Regions from separate parts of the Homo sapiens genome. Here region 1 is linked to region 2. Evidence: promoter capture Hi-C in human tissues and cell types (Jung and others, 2019). All regions are on one chromosome and are shown on one strand. The core of a region is centred on a gene start or on the middle of the fragment in contact, and the rest is flanking DNA. Distances in the headings are between cores, read along the strand shown.

Evidence for each region. Contacts are between HindIII fragments. The study calls those that stand out against the background at their distance.
Region 1: a contact is called between the fragment with the promoter of ADCYAP1 here and a fragment that was not itself captured in region 2, in 1 of the 25 tissues and cell types used here (dorsolateral prefrontal cortex).

The regions. Positions count from the first base shown.
Region 1 is chr18:903,499-906,198 of GRCh38, reverse strand. ADCYAP1 (adenylate cyclase activating polypeptide 1) reads right to left here and starts at 1,328. Exons shown (of 5, transcript NM_001099733.2): 1 at 1,139-1,328; 2 at 703-813. The coding sequence starts at 812. It overlaps LOC124904340 (a long non-coding RNA gene), which reads left to right. Exons shown (of 2, transcript XR_007066435.1): 1 at 1-1,117; 2 at 1,851-2,700. The HindIII fragment of the contact is 12,558 bases long and covers 1-2,700 here.
Region 2 is chr18:2,557,060-2,559,759 of GRCh38, reverse strand. The region is part of intron 3 of METTL4 (methyltransferase 4, N6-adenosine); the gene reads left to right. Among named protein-coding and RNA genes, the nearest start is that of METTL4, 13 kb to the left of the region's middle. The HindIII fragment of the contact is 4,977 bases long and covers 1-2,700 here.

The DNA.
Region 1 (2,700 bases), core at 79-2,578, 1.7 Mb after region 2:
TCCTGCCTGCCTGCTGGCTTTCCCTTCCTCCTCCTTTGCGCCTGTTTTTCCCCCTCCTTCGCAGTCTCGTCCTTGTTCTTCCCTCTCTTAAGTCGCTTTTCCTCAATCACACCGGGCCAACACCCTCCCCACCGCACGCCCCCCAAGACAGCCTGGGATTCAAAATGCAGTTGGAACACGGATCACTTGAAAGAAAGCTCTTCAGGGGAAAGAATTGGAATGAAATGAAAAGAAAGGGTGGAGGAGAGAGAGAGACCCCACCCGGATAGTCCAGAACAAGCAGTAACAAAGCAAAGTCCGAGGGAGCTTCACGCTCAACCCCCGGCCAGGCTCCAGAGCTGAAGTTCTCCTAACTCGTCCCAAGAATAGGTAAAAGAAACCAAGCTAGGGGCCGTGCCCTGCCCCCATCCTGTGGGCCGGGTTGGGGGAGGGGGGGTTCTCCAGCGGCCAGAAGCTCACTGGCTCTACCCGGGACCCTGAGCTGCCTAGGGCTGGGGGAGGCGTCCGAGCAGTCGCGGAGCCTGCCAGACCCTCGGCTAGAATGGGGACCCGCTGTCCAGCCGAGGCTGGCGGAGGCGCACCGGGGGCGCAGAGGGCGATGCTAGTAGTCTGGACCCAAAGGACTGCAGGAAGGAGACCGTGAGGAAGCGTCTGTGCCTGGGAAGCCCCAGCTCCTGCTTGGGCCAGGCAGCCAGCACCTACCTGATCCCGGGGAACCGGAGTCCGGCGGCGGCAGGTGAGCTGTAGACGCTGCTGTGCATGATTATCCCATAGACCAGCAGGGCCAGCCTCGCTCCGCTACACATGGTCATTCTGCGCAGGATGGGAAAGAGGACACACAGCTGTGAGAACGCCCCTGGCCTCCCACCCTCCAACCCCAAAAAGCTCTGGAAGCCGGGGGAGGGACGGAGCGAAGCCCCGGCTCCCTGAGTTGAACAGCACTTGGCGACAGCCGGTGCGCGCCCTGCCACTTCTTGCTTGCTATAGTTAGAAAAAAATATATATATATGCATCTACCCGGCGCCCAATAACTAGCCAGACCCGGCTGAAGGAAAGCTAACTCCCCTGACGCGATGCCAAGCGAAAGAATCAGCAGTCGAGTGAGCCGGTCGCTTTGGTAAGATTTTCCCTCCCTTACCCTTCAACTCCTCCCGCTGCCAGGAGAGCTGCCAGGTAGGACGGCGGGCAAAGCGCTTCTTCAAGTTCCTGCGCTGGAGTCACCACCCGAGAGGCATCGCCGTCTGGCGTTGGTGTCTGAGCAGAAGCCGCAGGAACCAGCGGGAGCAGCAGGAGGAGCTGCGGGACTCGTTTGCCGAGGCTCGTGTTCTGCTCAAAAGTTTGTAGACGCGCAGAACCAGGAGGGAGCGTGACACGGAGAGAAGGGGGCGCAGAGAGAGAGGCAGAAGAAAGAAAGAGGGGGCGATGAGGTGAAGCGCGGAGGAGCAAGGTGGCCGTAAGTCCACCCGGAGGAAGAAGCAGGCGATTAAGGGAAAGAGGGAAAGTCAGAAAAGAAGGGGAGGAAGGCAAGGGAGAGGGCGGGCGGCTAGCCCGCCTTTGTAGGAGCCGCGGGCCAGGCAGCCGCGAGGGTCGGCGGCGCCTTCTCTGCTCCGAGGTCTCTCCGGCTGCCTCTGAAGCTGCGGCTTCTGCTGCTGCTACCGCTGGTTACAGAGGTGACCGGCCTTCTGCTCCTATTTATCTGTGCAGTTCGCAAAAATCTATCCGAACATGGTTTTTGGAGAGCCCTCTTTGTCAACATCTGCCTGCCTGTTGCCTTTAAGTACAGAATATTTTGTTGCACTGTTGCGCTCCGATTTTTATTCATGAAATGACTTCCTTTTTTTTTTTCTCAGTCACGTAATGATCGGGTATCAGAAAAAGACGTCAGCATCCTAGTCCCTCAAGGAACATATTAACTATTCTGTGCTGTCCTCTTGGATGATAAGATCCGGAGTCATCGACTTCTCATAAACACCTTTCACTCATACAATCCAATTTTTAAGAAGTCCAATTGTTTTGATGGTTTTCAATTTCACCCGTTTCTCAAGGACAGGTAAAGAATTTTTAGAATTTTGAGGATGACAAAAGTTATGTTTTTAACTATATAATTACGATTTCTCTTTACTTTTTCATCAAGCCTCACCAATCAGAGCTCTGGTCTCTGGAATTAAGCATCATCAAGCTCTCCTATTAATAAATTTAATTTAGATCTCCTAATTTCTTGCGTATGTTCTTTCAGATAGACCATTAAATGTGGAAGTCGTTTTGTTTTTAAAGGGAAGTCTTGGAGGATTTTCAGTAAATCTCTCCTGAGTCTGGCTGCCGTTGACAGTAGGGCTATGAGTAGATTGATGAGAGCTCATGCTGCCTCCGGAGCGCGGCCTGCGGAGCTGTCCAGACTCCGGGTGCTGAAGTGTAGGGTAACAGATGCTACAAACGTTGAAAATTGCCACCGGTTTAATTTTTCACCAGAGCCTCTAAATTTGAAGATTTGGCAGTAGTGCTATTAACGTGGCGATTCATCGCCTAAATCACCCCCACCGTTCAGATACATCCTTTCCCTCTTGTAGCGTCCATAAATGCCCTAATGCTGAGAATGCTCCCCATCCCTGCCTGGATTTGAGGAAAAAGCATTCTGTCCCCCGTTAGTCCTGGCTTTTGGATTTCTAGACCGGCTGTTTGGCTACTTTCACACCTTCTGTG
Region 2 (2,700 bases), core at 124-2,623:
TCTCGAAAAAATAAAAAACAAAAAACAGAAATGTGTTCATTTCATCCTAGTTGTCAAATTTGTTAGCATGAAGTCATGTTATCTTATGCTTTCTTTTAATGTCTGTAGGATCTGTGGTGATGATAACTTTTTCATTGCTTTTATTAGTAATTTGTGGTTTTTTTAAATAGGTAAAATATACGTATCATAAAATTTACTGTTTTAACCATTTTTAGATGTACAATTTAGTGGCACTAAGTACATTCAGAGTGTCATGCCATCATTACCACATCCAAACTGAAACTACACATTAAATAGTAACTCCCCACTCCCCCTTCCCCTGCTGCCTGGTAACTAGTATTCTACTTTCTGTCTCTGTGAATTTGCCTATACCTCATGTAAGTTAAATCACATAATACTTGCCCTTTTGCATCTGGCTTATTTCACTATGTCTTCAAGGTTCATCCATGTAGCATATATCAGAATTTCTTTCCTTTTTAAGGCTGAAAAATATTCCATTTTATGTAAATATTACATTTTGTTTATCCATTTGTTTATGGACTTTTGCGTAGTTTCTACCTTTTGGCTGTTGTGAATAATGCTTCTCTGAAGACAGGTGTACAAATATCTATTCCAGTTCTTGCTTTTAGTTCTTTTGGATATATACCCAGAAGTGGAATTGCTGGATTTTATCGTAATTCTGTGATTAATTTTTGGAGGAACCACCATACTGCCTTCCACAGTGGTTCTATCATTTTACATTCCTACCAGCAATACCCAAGGGCTCCAGTTTCTCCACATCCTTGCCGACACTTTTGTTTTTGATAATAGCTATCCTAGTAGGTGTGGAGTAGTATCTCATTGTGGTTTTGATTTGTATTTACCTAATGGTTAGTAATGTTGAGCATCTTTTTATGTGCTTGTTGGCCATTTGTATATTTTCTTGAGAGAAATGTCTGTTTGTATCCTTTGTTCATCTTCTGGGCTGTTTGTTTTTTTTCTTGTTGAGTTTTAGAAGTTCTTTGTATATTCTGGATATTAACCCCCTATCAGATATATGATTTACAAATATTCAAAGAACAAGCTTTTAATTTAGTTAATTTTCCTTACTGTCTCTGTGTTTTCCATTTTATTGACTTCTGTGTTTTTTTTTATTATTTCTTTTGGTTTACTTTGCTCTTCTTTTTCTAACTTTTTTAATTTTTAATTTTCTTGGGTATTTTCTTAAAGTGGAATGTTATGTCGGTTAACTTACATCTTTTTTTCTTTTCTAACTTAAGCACTTAAAGCTGTAAGTTTCCCTCTAAATCACTGCTTTGGTTGCCTTCCACGTATTTTGATATTTTGTATTTTCATTTTGATTCAATAAAAAGTTATTTTCTGATTTTCCTTATTATTTCATCTTTGACCTATATGAATTATTTAGAAGTGTTCTATTTCATTTCCAGGTAATGAGTTTATCTCAGTGTCTTCTTGTTCTTGATTTCTAACTTAAATCCAATGGGGTATAGAACATACGCTTGGGATTTCAGTCCTTTTACATTTCTAGAACCTTGTTTTATGGCCCAGCATACGAGTTATCTTTGTGCCTGTATTATATGCTTTTGGGAAGAATATGTATTGTCTATACATATTCTTTCCAAAAATTGTTAGATGCAGTGTTCTATGAATGTCAGATGCAGTGTTAGAGGCAGTGTTCTATGAATGTCAGATAAAGTTAGTTGATAGTGTTTTTCAGAACTTCTGTGTCTTTAGAGATTTTTGCATTAATTTCTCACTTGCTGGGTAGATTTTTTTGGGTTGGTTTAGAATAGTGTTTAAGGCTAATTATGCCCCTATACTGATGCAAGATCGGTCTAATTACCCAGTACCCCTGTCAAGAACTGTGAAGTGTCTGAAATTTTACCCTATTTGGAAGCTAACAAATTAGCTTGCTTTAGTTTCATGGATGCTAGCAGAAGATAGGAGACTCCTAGGTCAGGGACAAAGGATTTTACTGCTCCTGGCACAGCATGTGCTTTATGCTCACAGGCTCCCTTTGCACCCCATGTCACATGAGGACAGTGGCAATCAACATAGTTAGATGCTGTGCATGCAGTGGGTTTCCTATGCATGCAGCAATTCTTTGATTCACAGCTAAGGATCCCAAGCTTAGGGAACTCTCATCTTTTAAGTGGGTTGCAAACAAACCTGTCTGACCTTTTGCCCCAGAGGGAGACTTTATTAACCTGGACAGCATACAAGTCTATCCTCTGCCTTGGGGAGACACTACTCCATCTTCCATGTTGTATACATATCCTTGGAAATTTTTTCTGGAACAAAAGCTGTCAGTGCCTCTGCTCAGAGACTCAGGATGAATTGTCTCCCAGTTGCCCTGTGAATCATGAGGTGTTCCCATCTGAGTGGTGGAAACAGGCACTATTCTTGGCCCTAGGGAGCATCAGATACTTTTTTTATTTTTATTTTTTAAATTTTTGGGGTACTCATTTTCCCAGCTTCTGATAGTTCCTTCACACACTTGTACTGATCAGTACATAGGTAAATTTCTCTAGTGTGCCTACCTGCAGATTTCCTGAGTTCTCTCTCTGTGGAGCCCTTTCCTCTCTGATATTCTGTCCTGTGAACTGTTAACTGTACTCTCAGTTCCATCTCCTCAACTCAGGGATTCTTCCAGGCTCTGCTCAGATTCTTCCTTTCTATGGCCTGGAAACTCTCTCCAGG